Linked DNA regions of Homo sapiens: all the other regions are linked to region 1. The links are contacts of gene promoters, found by promoter capture Hi-C in blood cells and fetal thymus (Javierre and others, 2016). All regions are on one chromosome and are shown on one strand. The core of a region is centred on a gene start or on the middle of the fragment in contact, and the rest is flanking DNA. Distances in the headings are between cores, read along the strand shown. Region 1 holds the start of ALOX15B (arachidonate 15-lipoxygenase type B). Region 2 overlaps KDM6B (lysine demethylase 6B). Region 3 has its middle 7.0 kb from the start of CYB5D1. Region 4 overlaps CHD3 (chromodomain helicase DNA binding protein 3).

Region 1 (2,541 bases), core at 18-2,517:
TGATCCGCCTCCCTCAGCCTCCCAAAGTGCTGAGATTACAGGTGTGAGCCACCACGGCACCTGGCCCTAGAGCAGTGTTTTTCAAACATCAGTGGCCACCAGAGTCATCTGGAAGGCTTGTCAAAACAAAAATTCCCACTCTACACCCTCAGTGTCGTAGTAGGTTGGAGGTGGCCTGAGAATTTGCATTTCTAATACGTTCCTGTAGACGCTGCTGATCCCAGGAGCAGCTTTGATAGGAGAGGTGGAGGCAGGGGCTTTTAATCTCTGTCATGACCAGGACACTCAAGCTGCCCCTCATCGTTTGGGCACACCCTCCCCCATCAGTAACCCCCTCCTCACTGGTACATCTCCTGCCGGGCCTGAAGCTCCTCCTGGCGCTGTTGCTGGAGCACAGGGTGGTGGTCTGCCCAGGACACCTTGGCTGTGGGAGAAGGGGAGTAGGTTGGGGTGGGGAGAGAAACTCACCATCACTACCACCAGCCACACAGTCTCCACGATTGCCACCCTCTACCAGGTCCCCTCCTCCCATAAGTACAGTTTCTCCTACACCAGGCTGCTACCTCCCGCTCCCCAAGGCTCCGCCATTCCCTCTCCTCTGCCCGCTACTCTGTGGCCACACCAGCTCACCTCTCCATTTCACCTGCCCTTCTCCCCAACCCCCAGTCCCCTACCCCTTCCTGTGCTCCCCCTGCAGCCCCAGCCCGGCCCGCCCCTCACCTGTACCCTCCTGCAGCACCAGGGTCCCCGCCCCCTCCAGCCACTGGTAGCAGGGGAAGAGGAGGTGGCCGCCCCGCGGCGGTGTCAGCTGGAACCAGCGGCAGAACCAGGCATCCGGGGCCAGGGGCCCCAGCAGGGGCAGCACTGGGGGCGCCTTGTGCACGCGCAGCAGCAGCACTCGGCCTACGTCCTCCGGGAGCGTCACCTGGAAGTCCTCCTCCTGAGGGGAGGTTAAGTATGCGTCAGGCCGGACCCTCCTGCTCGCCCCCTTCACCTCCACCCCATCCACTCCCACGCACTCACAGCGCCCGCAGTGAACTCCTTGCCGAGATTGTCCAGGGGCAGTGGGGGGCTCTCTCCCCGGGTCCCCACGATGCTGACAGACACTTTGTCCCATGTGCCAGCCCCGAAGGCTTCTCCGGTGGACACCCTGACCCTGAACTCGGCCATGCTGCCAGCCTAAGTCCAGCTCTCTACGGCGCACAGGGCTGCAGAGCGGGGCTCCCCCCTGGGACACGCCTGGTTATTGCCCCTGGTTATTGCCACTGACTCCAAGCCCAGTGGACTCCTCTAAAAAGCACGTCCGTTTCAGGGCGGGGAGGGGCGGGGCGGAGAGGCTGGAACACGCAACTAAAGTGGGGGTGGGCGGGGGATTGGCAGCGCTGGGAACAGGAGGGACTAAGAATACCCTGAGGTTTGGGGAACGGGGCCTTTCAGTGGTGGTGCCAGGCCAGAGAGCCTAGAGTTGGGACCCAGTTGGGGTGGGGGTAGATTTGTGCCCACCACGTCTGTTTGTTTTCCTTCTTAGCCTTAGAAGTCTATGCAAAAATATCACCCCATTTCCCACAACTCTTCTTGGGCCTGCGTTCATTATTTTTAAAATTTATTTATTTATTTATTTTTGAGACAGAGGCTTGCTCTGTCGCCAGGCTGGAGTGCAGCAGCATGATCTCGGCTCACTGGAACCTCCTCCTCCTGGGTTCAAGTGATTCTCCTACCTCAGCCTCCCCAGTAGCTGAGACAACAGGCGAGTGCCACCATGCCCAGCTAATTTTTGTATTTTAGTAGAGACGGGGTTCCACCATGTAGGCCAGGATGATCTTGATCTCTTGACCTCATGATCCGCCTGCCTCGGCCTCCCAAAGTGCTGGGATTACAGGCGTGAGCCACCGCGCCCAGCCTACATTCATTATTTTATTTCATTCAATAATTAATGTTCAGAACTACCTCTGTGCCAGGTGCTATGCTCACTGCTATTGATAAAGGCCCAGGCAAGACCTAGTGCTTGCTCTCATGGAGATTAAAAATCAAGTGTGAGGCCAGGCACAGTTGCTGGCCAACATGGTGAAACCCCATCTCTACTAAAAATACAAAAAAATTAGCCAAGCGTGGTGGCGGGCGCCTGTAGTCCCAGCTACTCAGGAGGCTGAGGCAGGAGAATAGCTTGAACCCGGAAGGCGGAGGTTTCAGTGAGGTGAAGTTGTGCCATTGCACTCCAGCATGGGCGACAGAGCAAATCTCGGTCTAAAAAAAAAAAATCAAGTGTGAGAGAAAATAAGTAAACCAACACATAATTTCAGATGATAATAAGTGCAATGAAGGAAATGAAACAGACTAATGTGAAGGAGTGAGAAGCAGAGGTGGGAAGGGAGGCGTTCAGAGCCTCAGAGGAGGTGAAAGGATCTGTCTGGGGAACAGAGTTTTGTGCAGAGGAAACTGTTCCTGAAGAGGCCCTGTGGTTAGGAAAAGCTTGGCTTGTTGGAGGAGGGAAAGGCAAGAGTGCAGTGAGGGAGGGATTTGGGGGAGAGATGCCAAGGGGAA
Region 2 (2,541 bases), core at 1-2,500, 200 kb after region 1:
GCTCCTCAGGGACCTATGTTTTCTGCTCCCTTAATCATAGTTCTCTGCCCTTATGGACCCAAACACTTGGGGTCCCAATCTAATCTCTATATTCCCTAGCCTTCCGGCCCCCATCCTTCCCCTTGCCTCAGAGACTCAGGCCTCTAGCCCCCAGTCTCCATGATGCAATGTTCCGCAAGCTTCTGTGGCTGCTGATGACACTGCCCCCAGGGAGGTGCTATTTGTGACCCACCAAGGCCTCCTTCCTAAGCCAGGGTAGTGGTCAGCTGTAGGTGGTAGAGGTCAGGCAGGCAAGGCCCTTCTGCTCGGGAAGGGAGCTTCAGGCTAGAACTCTCCAGGACAGGGAGGCTCATAACCTGGGAGCAGAGAGTGTGTATCTATAGTCTGTGGCATCTGTGTTCTGCGGTTGTGCTGGGGGGAGGGACTAGGAAAGGGCTAGTCGAGAGCAGAGTGGGCAGACTTTAGGACAGACCAAGAGGAGGAGTGAGGGGGAAGCCTAGGGGGTCAGAGGGTGTGTGAGGGGTGTCTGGACAACAGAGTGGGGGAGGGGCTAACAGCCATTTAAAGGGCCAGCCCCAGAGCTTTAATCCCTCACCAGCCCTGGCCCCAAGCCGGAGGCTGTAATTCATCTGTCCAACAGCTGGGGTGTGTGTGTTTGTGTGTGTGTGGGGGGGGGGGCTTCCTCCCCCTTCTATTCCCTCCCTCCTCCTCCCCGTCCCTGAGTCCCGGAGTCAAACAAAGAACTGTAGCAGGCTCTCCCCAACCCCCTCCCTCCTCCTCCTCCTCCTCCTCCACCTCCTCCTCCCCTCCCTCCCTCCCCACCAGCAGGCTCCCTCCTCCTCCCTTCCGGTCTCTTCCTTTAACTACCCGCCCCCCCAGCCCCCAGCACTAGTCTCTCTCCACCCACCCACCCCAACCTTTTACACACCCCTCAGCCTAGCCCTGTCCCCACTAGAGAAACTGTGGAGTCCCTCTGCAAAACGAAAGGCTCCAGAGATCAACACGGGAGGGGGCTGGGGTCTTGCTTCAAAATCAAGAACCATAATACAATTATTTTATTTTCAAGGCCCACGGAATAGTCTTAGCTATTTCTTGTCCAAGAGAAAAAAAAATAATCCTAAAGAAAGCAATACAAATCTGCCTAAAGCCTTCATCAAATAAAATGCACAAAGCAGTTGAAGCTAATCCCCAGCCCCCTAACCCCAATCTCCAAATTAACACAAACTATCCACTACCCCTTAACAAACTCCTACGGTTACCGCTGGTTTGGAGCAGACCCACAGCAATAATAATAAACTAGTAACTAACACCATTTAATAATAAAAGTATTTCATAACAACAAGCACTCATTCTGTGTTCATTCTGTGCCAGGCACTGTGCTAAGTGATTTGCATAAATTATCTCATTTTTTTCCTCCCAGCGGCCTTCAAGGTAGGTGTTGATATTTAAATGTTCAAGATTAACATACGAGGCTCAGAGAGGTTCTGACCTCTCCAAGTCCTAGTAGCCACTAAGTGACAGAGCTAGAATTAGAATCCAGGTCTGATCTGACAGCCCAAGCTCTAAGGTACATAAAAGCACAAACCGATTCATTCCAATACCATCACCAACCCTGGGACTTAATAGAGAAGAACAACCATAGCAATCAACTGAGTCCCCCTCCACCAAGTGAGAGGCTACAAACCGATTCACCCGCATACACACAATAAAGACCCTGACTTTTCAGCCTAATACTGTTTCTTGACCCTTTTCCTTTCATTGTTTGCAGATGGGGGTGTGCCATTATGGGGATTTCAGGGATAAGCTGGTGTGTAGTGAACCCCCCCCCATACTACACACAACTCTTCCGTCTTTCAACCACTCCCACTTCAAATCAATCTGGGGAAGGGGGCAATAGGACACTTGGCCATGCAGCAGGTGGGAAAGTAAAATGACGGCTAGGTAGCTTTTTCTATGGGGGCGGAGCCTTGGAGGGGAAGCTCTTCTGTGCCAATCTAGGGAAAAGTGACCCAAGGCTCCCTCAGCCCAGCAAAGGGGCAAAGTCTTTCAGCCACACCACACCCGTGCCCCTCCCCCTCACAAAACTCCAGGCCGGGGTTTCCCACCTGCAGGATGCTAAGACCACGGGAAGGGAGAGGGGAAAGAGATGGCACGGGACTGGAACTGGACTCGGGGCAGAGGTGGGAGGGAATAGAAGGGGGAGGAAGCCTCATTGCCTGGCAACCATCCCGGGGCACGTGCACTAGTGACATCATCCCAGGCCACCTCTAACACAGACCTTTGACCCCTACGGGGCGGAGTGGGTGTGCTGGCTAAGCTTCCTGGAAACACTGGAAACACCCTTAGGAATTCTGGGAACCCAAAAAGGAGACATAAGAAGAAACCCAGGCGTCCTTATCTCTTTTACCCCTAATACGACTCCAATCCCAGGGACTCAGGCCTCTTGCCTGTCTCCTCCTCTCCGCCTGCAGCCCTGACCTCCCAACCCACATTTCTGACGGGAGTCGGCCCGACACGCCCCTCGGAGATACTGTGCCTTCT
Region 3 (2,541 bases), core at 1-2,500, 170 kb after region 1:
ACCAAAAAAAAAAAAAAAAAAAAAAAAAAATTAGCCGGGCTTGGTGGCGGGCATCTGTAGTCCCAGCTACTCGGGAGGCTGAGGCAGGAGAATGGCGTGAACCCGGGAGGCGGAGCTTGCAGTGAGCCGAGATCGTGCCGCTGCACTCCAGCCTGGGCAACAGAGCGAGACTCCGTCTCAAAAAAAAAAAAAAAAAAAAAGTTCCCCATGGCTACTGTGTAAATAAGGAAGCAGGATGACAAATTAAGAGAATCACAAACTTCCGTGAGTCTCCCATTAAACTGTAAGCTCCTAGAGGGCAGGAACTGTGTCATTAATTTTTGTATTCACAGTTTCCAGGACTGTGCCTGACAGATGCTCAGTATCATTTTAATGAATTGAATAAATGATAGGGCCAAGATTCCAACCTAGGCTTTCAAGAAAGGCTCAAGTATCAATGCCCTGTCTCCCCTACACACAACCCTTCAAAGACCACCCCTCCACTCCACCCTAGACTGGGCTGGATACCCCCCTTTTACCTCCAGTGCATCTCTGGTGGATTGTATTTTCTAAATATGCCCACAATTATGTCTCACATCCCACATGTTCTTCTTACAGTGTAATTCCGAGACTCTTCCCGGTGAGAGGTGGGAGCTAGTTCCCTTCCCTTGGAATTGAGGCTAGGTCATATGATTCAGCTTCCTCTTGGTTCTCTTGGGATGCTGTGAGGAAGCCCAAACTGCCCTGTGTAGAGGCCCATGTGGAGAAAAACTGATAGCATTGAGAGCTATGTGAGACAGCCATCTTGAAAGTGGATCCTCCAGCTCCCCACAGTCCACCCCTTTGGGAGTAGAAGTGAGCTGTCCCTGCTGAGCCCTACCCATATTGCAGATTCATTGGCAAAATACAGCAGTGGTAGGTAACTAGAATAGCATCCTATGTTTGACATGCAGGGAGGCGGTATGTTAGTTGGATGGGCTATGACTACCTTGGTACTCATTAGTTGTATGACTTTTGGCAAGTTACTTAATCTCTCTCTGCTTCAGTGTTGTTTTTCAGTATAAATAAAAATCGTACCTATGCCTTAAGTTTGTTGGGAGGATTAATGTTGGTAAATGCAGCTCTACAGGTAATACAGATGAGTCATGTGAGCATCTCCTCAGACATGCCTCTGATCATTCAGCCATCGCTCTCGTGATTCTGTGTGTCTTTATAGTACTTTCACTCTATTCATAATATGTTTATATATAGGTATGTGTATGTACAGGTTGAGCATCCCTAATCAAACACCCAAAATGCTCCTAAATCGGAAACTTTTACATGCCTACATGATACCACAAGTAGAAAATTCTACACACAAGTACCTAACACAAACTTTGCTTCATGCACATAATTTTTTTTTTTTTTTTTGAGATGGAGTCTCACTCTGTTGCCCAGGCTGGAGTGCAGTGGCGTGATCTTGGCTCACTGCAGCCTCCGCCTCCTGGTTTGAAGCCATTTTGCCTCAGCCTCCCGAGTAGCTGAGATTATAGGCACTTGCCACCACACCTGGCTAATTTTTGTATTTTTAGTAAAGACAGGGTTTCACTGTGTTGGCCAGGCTTATCTTGAACTCCTGGCCTCAAGTGATCCTTCTGCCTCCCAAAGTGCTGGGATTACAGGCGTGAGCTGCCACACCCAGTCCAGGCACACAATTATTTAAAATATTGGCCAGGCACGGTGACTCATACTTATAATCCCAACACTTTGGGAGGCCTAGGCAGGAGGATTGCTTGAGGCGAGGAGTTTGAGACCGGCTTGGGCAACATAGGAAGACCCTGTCTCTACAAAAAAATAAAGAATTAGCCAGGTATGGTGGTGCTACTCTGAGGCAGGAGCATTGTCTGAGCTCGGGAGTTTGAGGTTACAGTGAGCTATGATCACACCACTGCACTTAAGCCTTTACTCCCATTCCCACTTTGATGGATTCACTTCACTTATTCATTCACCAGCTTTTTGGGTTTTTCTTTTTAGTGCTTCCGGTGTGCCTAGAATACCTAGTACTTGGGGTGCATATCCATTTGTATTTTTGAATCCTTAATCTTTGGCTTCCAGGATAAAGATCAGTCAGGTTTCTAATTCTGTGTGCATTCTTACAGCCAAACCGTGTACTCTACTGACCCATGATCAAGTGGCTGTTCTCCCAACAGCAGCCCATCCATGTGGCCTCCCTAAACTTAGCTGTGGTGCTGGATGCATTAACCTTATCGTGATGTATGATTGGATGTTATAGTATCAAGACCAAATGATGGATCCCTTTACTCAGCTCCAAGGTACAGCCAGATTAACATTTGGTACAGTAGTAAAACACTTGAGACTCGTCATAAATTTAGCCCCAAAGGTTAGAGCTTTAGGAATTTCTGCCATGGGTTGCCATGGTTCTGCCACAGGCTGAGGCAGACCATTGAGACAGATGCCAGAATATTGGGACCACATTGTATTATAACTTTTGATATTTTACTTTTGAGGCTGTTTAAAGTATTGTTGTGTATGTGTGTGTGTGCGTGCTATTTCAGGAGTAGG
Region 4 (2,541 bases), core at 19-2,518, 140 kb after region 1:
TTTTCTTGTACCCGGTAGTTCTGTCCACCTGCTCCTAGATGTTCTCTGATGACAAACAACCATGCCCCCAACTCAAAGCCTAAGTTTCCAATGTCCCCCAAGCCAGTCCCCCTCCCATCCCAGGGACCTATCACAGGTTTCTCAGGCCTCCCACACCCACCAGGGACCAGTGTATCTCCCTCACCATTAAACCGATCGATGGCCTCCTGCCTCAGGGCACCCGTGATACCACCATCGATGCGCTCATACTTGTAGCCTTCATAGTCTAAGAAGTCCTCAAGCAAGTCTAACATTTTGGTCATCTAGAGCAAGAGAAAAGGATGGAGTCTGCAATAATGAGGTGGTGGGATGCTTGCTTATTCTAACTACTCCTTTACACAAACTCAACCCTAATCTTTACACCTGAACCCCTGCCCTGTCTTAAGCTCCTCATTATTCCACCTTCTTGTCACACTCTCTTTTCTTATTTTTATTTATTTTTATTTTTTTTTGAGATGGAGTCTCATTCTGTTGCCCTAGCTGGAGTGCAGTGGTGCCATCTCTGCTCACTGCAACCTCCACTCCTGGGTTCAAGTGATCCTACCGCCTCAGCCTCCCTAGTAGCTGGGACTACAGGTGTGCGCCACCACGCCCAGCTAATTTTTGTATTTTAAGTAGAGACAGGGTTTCACCATGTTGGCCAGGCTGGTCTTGAAACTCCTGACCTCAAGTGATCTTCCTGCCTCGGCCTCCCAAAGTGCTGGGATTACAGGTGTGAGCCACCACGTCTGGCCCTCTTGTCACACTCTCTTGATTTAAGATTGTTTCTCCTAAGGCAGAGGTTCTCTGAGACCCATGAAAAGGTTTCAGGGAAATCCAGGAACCCCCTGAAAATCCGTACAAAATTGTGTCATTGTATGTGCAGTTTTCTGGTGAGTAGACCCAGAGCTTTCATCACATTTCCAAAGGGTCTGTGCCCTTCACCCTCACCTGCCAATAAGATGAAGAAATAATACCAGTCCCTAAGGAGGCAGATGGCTCACCCTCCCCCTTCCCTCATGCAGCTGAAAAGGAACTAGAGCTGGACCTCAACTTCCAGCAACCTTAAGAACAGGCATCAGAGGCCAAGAATGAACTTGCTATACAGTAATCCCAGCACTTTGGGAGACCGAGGCGGGCAGATCACCTGAGGTCAGGTGATGGAGACCATCCTGACCAACATGGTGAAATCCCGTCTCTACTAAAAATACAAAAATTAGCTAGGCATGGTGGTGCACGCCTGTAATCCCAGCTACTTGGGAGGCTGAGGCAGGAGAATCACTTGAACCCAGGAAGCAGAGGTTGCAGTGAGCCGAGATCGTGCCACTGCACTCCAGCCTGGGCAATAAGAGCGAAACTCTGTCTCAAAAAAAAAAAAAAAAAAAAAAACTCTTACAGGAGGAATCTCCTCATTTGTCACACCAGAGCAGCCACAGGAAGACCGTAAGAAATTAAAGTCTGGAGGATGAGGAGAGGGAAGAGGAAGCAGATGTAAAGACAGCTAAGGGCACAGGTCACCTGCGAGAAGATGAGCACTCGGTGTCCTTGCTCCTTCAGCTTTCGCAGCATCTTCTGGAGCAGCATGAGCTTCCCAGACGACTTAATAAGTGCCCCACCCTCATAAGCCCCACTGGGGAGTTTGGGGGACTCCTGAAAAGGGAGGAGAGAGGAGGAGGAGGGGGTCAGTTGGAAACATGCCCCCATATTCTTGCCACACCTAGAAGGCCAGATGCCCGGATCCAGCTTCCACATGTTCCCAATTCCTCCTGTTCTCAGACACCCAGTCCGTGGCCTTCCAGCCCAGCTCCACCCCTGTGGCTCAATACCCACCTCCCCACTACTCCCCACCCATGTTTTCTGAGAATGGGCGTTCGATCAGCTCCCTGCTCTGTGTATCTACCATAGCAGCCACGGGAAAAAGGTATGGATGGTTGCAGCACTTCTTAAGATCCATCATGATATTAAGCAGCGACACCTGGTTCCCACCACCTCGTGAATTCAAGGCCTCAAAATTTCGAGTCAGGATGTATTTGTAGTATTTCCTAAAGGCCAGGAAAGGGGTGTAAAAGAAACATAAATAAAGGAAGCAATTATGATATTGCACTTGGAACGCTCCCATCAATCCCCAAGCCCTACTCCAGGCAGCTCGTCTTGCATCTTACTTCTGCATGGGGCTTAGCTCCACCCGAACGATGAGCTCTGTCTTGGCTGGCATGTTCTTAAAGACATCTGCCTTGAGTCTCCGCAGCATGTGTGGCCCCAGCAAATCATGCAGTTTCTTGATCTGGTCCTCTTTGGATATGTCAGCAAACTCCTCCAGGAAGCCCTCCAAGTTGCTAAGAGCCAGAAGAGAAGAAAATTAACAGGTCGGCAAGTTCCTTGCCCCTGATCTCAGACTTACCACCTCAGATTAATCCTCTACCAGCTCATTTTATCTGCTCCACCTCTCATCTCTGCCAACTACCCTTAGGGAACCACTTACTTAAATCTCTCTGGGGTGAGGAAGTTCAGGAGATGGAAGAG

The links. Contacts are between HindIII fragments. The CHiCAGO score rates a contact against its expected background, and 5 or more counts as called.
Region 2: a contact is called between a fragment that was not itself captured here and the fragment with the promoter of ALOX15B in region 1, in 1 of 17 cell types (M0 macrophages). The highest score is 5.1, in M0 macrophages.
Region 3: a fragment that was not itself captured here is called in contact with the fragment with the promoter of ALOX15B in region 1 in 7 of 17 cell types (endothelial precursors, M2 macrophages, naive B cells and 4 more); the score reaches 8.8 in endothelial precursors.
Region 4: a fragment that was not itself captured here is called in contact with the fragment with the promoter of ALOX15B in region 1 in 7 of 17 cell types (megakaryocytes, M0 macrophages, M1 macrophages and 4 more); the score reaches 8.0 in megakaryocytes.

Annotation. Positions count from the first base shown.
Region 1 is chr17:8,037,785-8,040,325 of GRCh38, reverse strand. It overlaps ALOX15B (arachidonate 15-lipoxygenase type B), which reads right to left and starts at 1,267. Exons shown (of 14, transcript NM_001141.3): 1 at 1,024-1,267; 2 at 721-940; 3 at 343-424. The coding sequence starts at 1,170. The HindIII fragment of the contact is 10,323 bases long and covers 1-2,471 here.
Region 2 is chr17:7,836,575-7,839,115 of GRCh38, reverse strand. All of the region lies in intron 1 of KDM6B (lysine demethylase 6B), which reads right to left. LOC124904106 (translation initiation factor IF-2) reads left to right here. Exons shown (of 4, transcript XM_047437265.1): 4 at 2,472-2,541. Among named protein-coding and RNA genes, the nearest start is that of KDM6B, 3.6 kb to the right of the region's middle. RefSeq lists a silencer at 1,328-1,477 and an enhancer at 2,348-2,397. The HindIII fragment of the contact is 2,138 bases long and covers 182-2,319 here.
Region 3 is chr17:7,863,743-7,866,283 of GRCh38, reverse strand. It overlaps a transcript of NAA38 not described here. Among named protein-coding and RNA genes, the nearest start is that of CYB5D1, 7.0 kb to the right of the region's middle. The HindIII fragment of the contact is 3,079 bases long and covers 1-2,541 here.
Region 4 is chr17:7,900,371-7,902,911 of GRCh38, reverse strand. CHD3 (chromodomain helicase DNA binding protein 3) reads right to left here. Exons shown (of 40, transcript NM_001005273.3): 17 at 2,501-2,541; 18 at 2,181-2,354; 19 at 1,919-2,060; 20 at 1,537-1,668; 21 at 185-302. Among named protein-coding and RNA genes, the nearest start is that of CHD3, 13 kb to the right of the region's middle. RefSeq lists an enhancer at 1-221. The HindIII fragment of the contact is 4,232 bases long and covers 1-2,541 here.